2 separate regions of the Homo sapiens genome follow, and region 2 is linked to region 1. The links are contacts of gene promoters, found by promoter capture Hi-C in blood cells and fetal thymus (Javierre and others, 2016). All regions are on one chromosome and are shown on one strand. The core of a region is centred on a gene start or on the middle of the fragment in contact, and the rest is flanking DNA. Distances in the headings are between cores, read along the strand shown.

Region 1 (3,336 bases), core at 572-3,071:
TAGCTATATCTTGATGGATAGGCAAGTTTGGGAAAAGTAAGCATCTCAGCATATAATAAATATACAGGACCCCCCATTCATAATATGCTTTCGAGTCCGATATCCTATTGCTCCTACAACAAGCATGAGTGACAGGTAAGAAGGAGACTGCCCATTTTACAGATGAAGTGGTTGCAGTTCAGAAAGTTTAAATGATTTGCTCAAGATCAGAGGGTGGGTATCACAGCTGGACTCCAACCTTCATCTTATGATTCTGAAGCTAAGGTGGAGGACAGGACTGGACAGCCAGTTGGGCGGGGGCAATCTTTGGGGAGGAGAGAGTTTACCAGAACAAGAGGCAGTCAAAGGGGAATCAGGAGTTTGAAAGGTAAAGATAAACTTTCACCTGGGGTAGGTCTTGGGATGTGGTGCATCTGGCAGCCAAAGATTTCTCCTACAGCTTTCTAACCATCTCAGGGAGAAGGATTTGGAATGAACATTAGCACATGACTGTCCTCAAACTGTGTGTAGGAGACTGTAGTTTCAGCCAACTGGCCACTGAAAGGGTCACTAGCCTTCCTCTGTAAGCTGTAAGTTGGCAGTTAGAAAGGGGTTAAATTCATGTCTTTTGCGAAGGTGAATTACATGGTTAGATATGTGCCGATCACCCTGTCACCGCCTGTGGGGCACACAACTCTGTGTTCCACTTGCTGTCTCATATAATGCCCGAAATTGTTGCCTAGAGAGCTGAACAGTGACATCTGTTGGTTCGATTTGAAATAGGCAAGTTCAAAAGAGAAACAGCCACACTAGTATTTCTTCCCCTTTCAAAACAAATAGGAACAATCATGACAAAGGAATGACCCTTCCAAAGGAAGTTTTAACATCAGCAGCATACTTTATCTGAAGAACAACACACGACTCCAAGTTTCAGGATGAGGGATATCATGTGACTTTTATTTTTGCAGAAAGCCCATCAAAGACTTTGTGTAAACCTTTTAAAACTCCAATTCAAAAGAAACAGTACTAAGACCTGTGTATCTGAGAAATTCCTCAATGCTCAAGATTTCATCCAGAAGCATAAATGAGCAAATAGAAAGTATGGATTTGGGGCAGTGGTGAGAAATAATGAAATTGCTTTCTGCTCTAGGAAACTTGAGAAACAAACCTTCCTGTGGATGTGCCTGTGAGTTACAACCCAGCTTGAATCCTTTCTAAATAGCTCCAAATTTCAAGATCACTTTGACAATCACCTAGCTCTTAGCTTCAATTAATTAAGTGTCCATGTTCCTTTGTACTGAATGCTCTATTTCTTTCCTTACAAAACTCTAAACCTCATTGAATGTACAATGGAAATGATTTTCTGGGAAATCTGGATAATCAAAAAATACTATATTCTGACAAGTTATATATATACATATGTAAATTTTTTATATATTATATATAATTTATATACATAAATTATATATATATAGTGTGTGTGTGTGTATGTGTGCACACTCCATACAATATCATTTCCTGCTCAGACCTTTACAAAAATTGCTAAGAAACAGTAAATTGCACAGTTTGGCCTTCAACCTTTTAATCACCCCAAGGAGAAAAGAAGTGGCTCAAAGAGTAGCATGAGAAAACAGAGGAGAAAATGAAGGCTTGGATAATCTGCCAACCGAATAACTGAGTAATGACATAATTGGATCATTGAAAAAAATGTTAAAATTTTTACCAGTTATTAATTAGAGAATCATGCATGACCCTGGGAACTTGCTTTTTGTTTTAAAACAGGAGCCACGATTATGAAATGGTTCAAGCTGGCTTATTCAGGTCTGCTGAGATCTCTACTGGTTTGCTTTTCAGATCCCTCGTGGTTCGAGAACAGAATGGCGTTAAATCACACTGCCCTGCCTCAGGACGAGCGCCTGCCCCATTACCTTCGAGATGGGGATCCTTTTGCTTCCAAACTTTCTTGGGAAGCGGATTTAGTGGCTGGCTTTTACCTAACAATAATTGGTAAGCTTCCTTAATTCTTCTGTGCAAAGGCTGCATTTAGAAAATTCATGGGCTGATATGTTAATTTTGTGAAAGGATTCTGATACTTAAGTGGATAGTTTAGTGGAGGCGAAGAGTGGGGAAAGGCAGAAGATGGAATGGCATTATGGCATTCAATAAATGTTTCCTAGAAATGACTCTTTATTATCATTATTATTAGGAATAAAATTCCATTGATAATCCAAGAACTCTTACAGCAAAATTATTTATCCATTTCATTTTGGTTACTTTGGGAGTAGATTTACTTTCTGAATACCAAAATTAATGATAATGATATTTTATTTAAACAGAGTGCTTTTTAAATAATGTTTTTGACATAATCATAAGTTTTAGGTTGAGAATGGGCCTTAAAAATAATCTAGGTCAGTCTCCTGTTCTCACAACTGTGCAAAACTCAATTGTGCTATTGTGCTATAGTACTATAGTAATGGCAGAAACACTGAGTTTACTTCACCTAAAAGTAAAGTCGCATCAAAATAGCTAAGCCATTTTGGTGACAGTTGAAAAATGTGTTGGTGATAAATGGAAGAAAGTCCGGGGTCAAAAGATTTTTGTGCATAATTGACGAAAGGGTGCACCTGCTTCTAGACTGCATGATCTCATTCATTCAGTAGCCACATGTGGCTTTTCCAAATTGAAAGTTGCTGTAGTGTAAATACTCACCAGATACTGAAGGCTCAGTACAACAAAAAGTGGTATAAAATATCTCATTAATAATTTTTAAAAATTAAATACATGTTGAACATACAACATTTTAGGTATGTTAAGCTAAATAAAATATATTATTAAAATTAATTTACTGTAAATTTTAAATTTATAAATTAAATTTTTACTTTGTAAATTTTTACTTTGTTTAATGTGGCTACCAGAAAATTTTAGAATCCATATGTGGCTCGCATTTCTGGCTTACATTACATTTATACTGGATAGCACTAATCTAGACAGTTAGGATTTAATTTAACCACCTATTTAAATTTAAGAAAAGAAACCATACTTTTCTTAAATTTAAAATTGTTGTTTTAACTTTGGGTGACCAGTGTGAAGGTGGGTTATGTCTTTAGGTTTGTTTGCCTTTAATTTTTTCAGATGTTGGGTCAAACTTGCTCTCTCTCTCTTTTCTCTTTGTTTCTATCTTTCTCTTCCACCCTTCTTCCCTTCCTCCCTTTCTCTCTTTTTCTCCCTCTCTCATCTATTTATTACTGGCTAAGAATTTCATTTAACCTCCTGAAAGTAGCAAAACTCATTAGAAAATACTTGATATCCCTCTATGGTCAGTACTTGAGGCAAAAGGAACTCATGTGATTCAACCAA
Region 2 (3,566 bases), core at 418-2,917, 2.1 Mb after region 1:
CAGTAAGGGGGTCCAAGAACTTTTTAGAGAGCAGAGAAAAATCTACACTTACCTCAATATTTTATCTAGGTTGACCCTAATTAAATATTTTAATCTGTTGGGTGGGAACTCGAGTTCTCAGACCTAGACTTTGTAATTTCCTTTGCCATAGGTTAAATCAATGGTTTTCAGTCACTCTGGCAATTGGGGAGGGGTAAGCAGAAATAATTTGTACATGAATGAGATGAAAGTTGTAGAAAAGTGCGATGTTTTTTAATGCTTAATTTAAAGGATGTATGGTTCCCAGATCAATGGGTTAACTGTAAACAAACAGAATGCAAACAAACTTACTGCAAAGTTTGTCTTCACAGTTACTTGGGCAGGCTTCACATGGGACGCCTGTCTTATAAGGTTCATTCTTTGTTTCAGGATCATTTCCCCTTGAATAAAAAAAAGTGATTTCATAAAACCCATCTTTGAAAAACTCACATAAAACTTTACTCACAGTGTACAACCAATTTTAAAAACAAATTGTGTAAACATTCTTGTAAAGAACAGTGATAATTTTTAAGATGGGTGTGAGATTTCCAATCTTACAGCTATAATATTTTTTAGCACGTAGAACCAATAAATGTGAGTGACATGAAAATATTTTTCAGTCAATGTGCACATCTCGTTGGACAGTCAAGTCCTAACAGTACTTGGGAACTTTGGGTACTCCCAAGTACAAGCAAGGGGACTCACAAGCAAGAGGGCTTTAGAGCCAATTACAATAGAACATTCTTCATTAATACCTATAAGGACTTGGTAAACCATCATTTAAAAGGGCATGATTCTTACCAATGTTAAGAAGAAAATCTCAAGTGAGGCAAGTTAGAGAGGTTCTAACTCCATCTTGCACTATGTTATAAGAAACTTTTTACATGTTAATGTCTTTTATTGAAAGAGATGGTGTATATAAAAGATGAAAGTACATCAGCATGGATAAAACTAAAGTGCTGGGGTGTGGGAAAGAAAGTAGATGAGAAGTTCTAGTTCTGGACTAATTTGAAACTTTAGAAAAGACGGGCAGGGCTCAATGACTTATCCCTGTAATCCCAGCACTTTGAGAGGGCAAAGTGGAAGGATTGCTTGAGCCCGAAAGTTTGAGAAAAGCCTGGGCAAAAAAAAAGCATCTTCATATCTACAAAAAAAAAAAAAAAAAAAAAAAAAAAAATTAGTTAGGCCTGGTGGCGTATGCCTGTAGTTCCAGATACTTGGAAGGCTGAGGTGGGAGGATAGCTGGAGCCCAGAAGGTCAATACTACAGGGAGCTATGTTGACACCTCTGCACTCCAGCCTGGGTGACAGAACAAGGCCCTATCTCAAAAGGAAAAACAAAAAAGAAAAGACAATTCTTACCCATGTATGTCTAAAAACATAATGTAGATAATATCTGCTTCTAAATACAACTTTAAAAAGTAAATGTTCTGGTTTTAAAAAGCCTTTTTAAATATGATATTTGTTTATCTGAGCTGCTAAAATTTCACTTTGAAAAGAAGATTATTACTAAATTCAGTAAGAGATTTAATGAGAGACTTGGACTAATCTTCAACCAAGAAAATTCCCCATCATAGATCTCCATATTTTGTACTTTTCTTTTTTGGATCAGTTGAAGTTCACTGCAGACTACCAACCCTTGAAAACATGTATCACAAATGATGTGTTGTAGCAGCAAAGAGATTTTATTGTCTTCAGCACAATTTATATATAACTCATATAGAGTTATTATATGGTGATATTACACTCTGAATCAATAGTGATAGTGGTGGCGCCACTGAAAATGTGAAGTATGGCAGTGTGTTTTCAAATAAATCATGTTCATTGATTTATACTGAACATTTTGTATTGTGCTACATACATGGGAGGCAGTGGTTAAGCACCATGCATTGAGTTCACATTATGTAGGAAAGACTTATGTGTTAATCTAAGAAATACATGTAGCTGAAGGAGATATATGATGGCGTCACTGACTTTTATCAGCAGAAGTGCAGAAGTGATATTGAACTGGCATTTGTAGTCAAATATCAGGCAGTTCTATCCAGCTCTGAATAATCTTCACTTTTCTGATAACCGTCACTGGAGCCACACAGTTGGGCCCTGCAGTCATCCTTGTCTTACTTGATCTTGCTTCATAATCACAGTTGATAGGAGAAGAAGGTGCAGCAGAACCTTACTGAAACAATCAGATTAAATTTTCTAGGAATTGTGACTAGTATCTGTGGTAGAATCTGTAACATGTATATTTAATTTTTAAAGAGAAGACATGCAACAACTTTTTGACTAGATAGCTAAATACAGGGAAAGACACTTGGCTCTTTCTATTTGTTTCCTTGTTAAGACTCCACTGCATGTCTGTCCTTTTGGTCTAACAATACTCTTGTTTTGTTGAAGTAAATGTCCTTGTTTCTTTGCTTAATCAAATTTGTTTCTCTTATATAATAATTACCTGAAGAATCAATGACACATAGGAAGACTGCTGGTAAATTGCTCTGAAAATATATTGGAGTTTTTTTTAAATAAGAGAAAATACAGTCAAAGGAATAAAATAATATATAACTAAATATGTGTTTTCACATAACTAGGAAGTAGTCAAGACTCAAACTACAGATTGTGTAACCATTCATCTTTGAAGGACATCTGGGTTATTTCCAGCTCTTGTCTATTATGAATAAAGTTGCTACAAACATTTATGCACACAAAAAAACAATGTTTGAAAAACTAGATTAGGTTACTTTAGGGGGATATATATTTTAAAAACTAATAATACATACTCATGACAATAGTGACAAACGTAGAGATATCGAGGTGATCCTTGTTGGCGGCAAGATGCAATGGCACAGCCAATCAGGTAAGATGTGGCCCAAACAATCTGCAATGATAAAGAGTTGTTTTATTACAGATTAAATATTTTACTAAATGACTATAATATCCATATTGTCATCCATGATTAAAAGTAAACATGTTGCTTTTAGGTTTACTTTGGGCATGGCTTAATAAGAAGTCATAGAAACAAAAGGACTCCCACGTGTCTGGATACCACACATGCATGTACACGCACATAGCTGCACACAATGGAAACCAGGTGGAGAAAATCAGCTGACGGGGAGGATGACTTGATGATTGACATTGTCTCTATTTTTTGTCAGTTTTTCTTTTTGAAAGTAAGTTGGGCTTCTAGATGTAATTTCTAATTTTAACAAAACCCAATGTTCATTTTCTCTGGGATAGGAGAGATGGGTAGAGAGAGGGTAAAGGTCCAAAAGGTAGCGTTGATCATTTTGCTATGAACAGGCTGATGTTCAAAGAGGACTTGAGTGTTGCCTTTCTGTACATGGGCCGTACATGACTGTGCATGGGATTCATTTCTCTGATCTTATCCAGTATACTCAGGGATGATCAAAACTCTGTGTCAATTCTCCATGACTCATTGGAACGAAACATGAGTGGCTGTCATCAACGCTGGCTCATTCTCCCCTTCTCATCAAATTTATGTGGACAAGATAACTTATCAGTTTACATAATGAAGGCTGCTTGGTGGTTATATAA

Evidence for each region. The method cuts DNA at HindIII sites, captures the fragments that hold promoters and counts their contacts. A CHiCAGO score of 5 or more calls a contact.
Region 2: a fragment that was not itself captured here is called in contact with the fragment with the promoter of OPN5 in region 1 in 2 of 17 cell types (neutrophils and M2 macrophages); the score reaches 6.8 in neutrophils.

The regions. Positions count from the first base shown.
Region 1 is chr6:47,780,211-47,783,546 of GRCh38, forward strand. It overlaps OPN5 (opsin 5), which reads left to right and starts at 1,822. Exons shown (of 7, transcript NM_181744.4): 1 at 1,822-1,986. The coding sequence starts at 1,857. The HindIII fragment of the contact is 3,260 bases long and covers 1-1,989 here.
Region 2 is chr6:49,838,107-49,841,672 of GRCh38, forward strand. It overlaps CRISP1 (cysteine rich secretory protein 1), which reads right to left. Exons shown (of 8, transcript NM_001131.3): 6 at 2,792-2,889; 7 at 331-419. Among named protein-coding and RNA genes, the nearest start is that of CRISP1, 27 kb to the right of the region's middle. The HindIII fragment of the contact is 3,812 bases long and covers 1-3,566 here.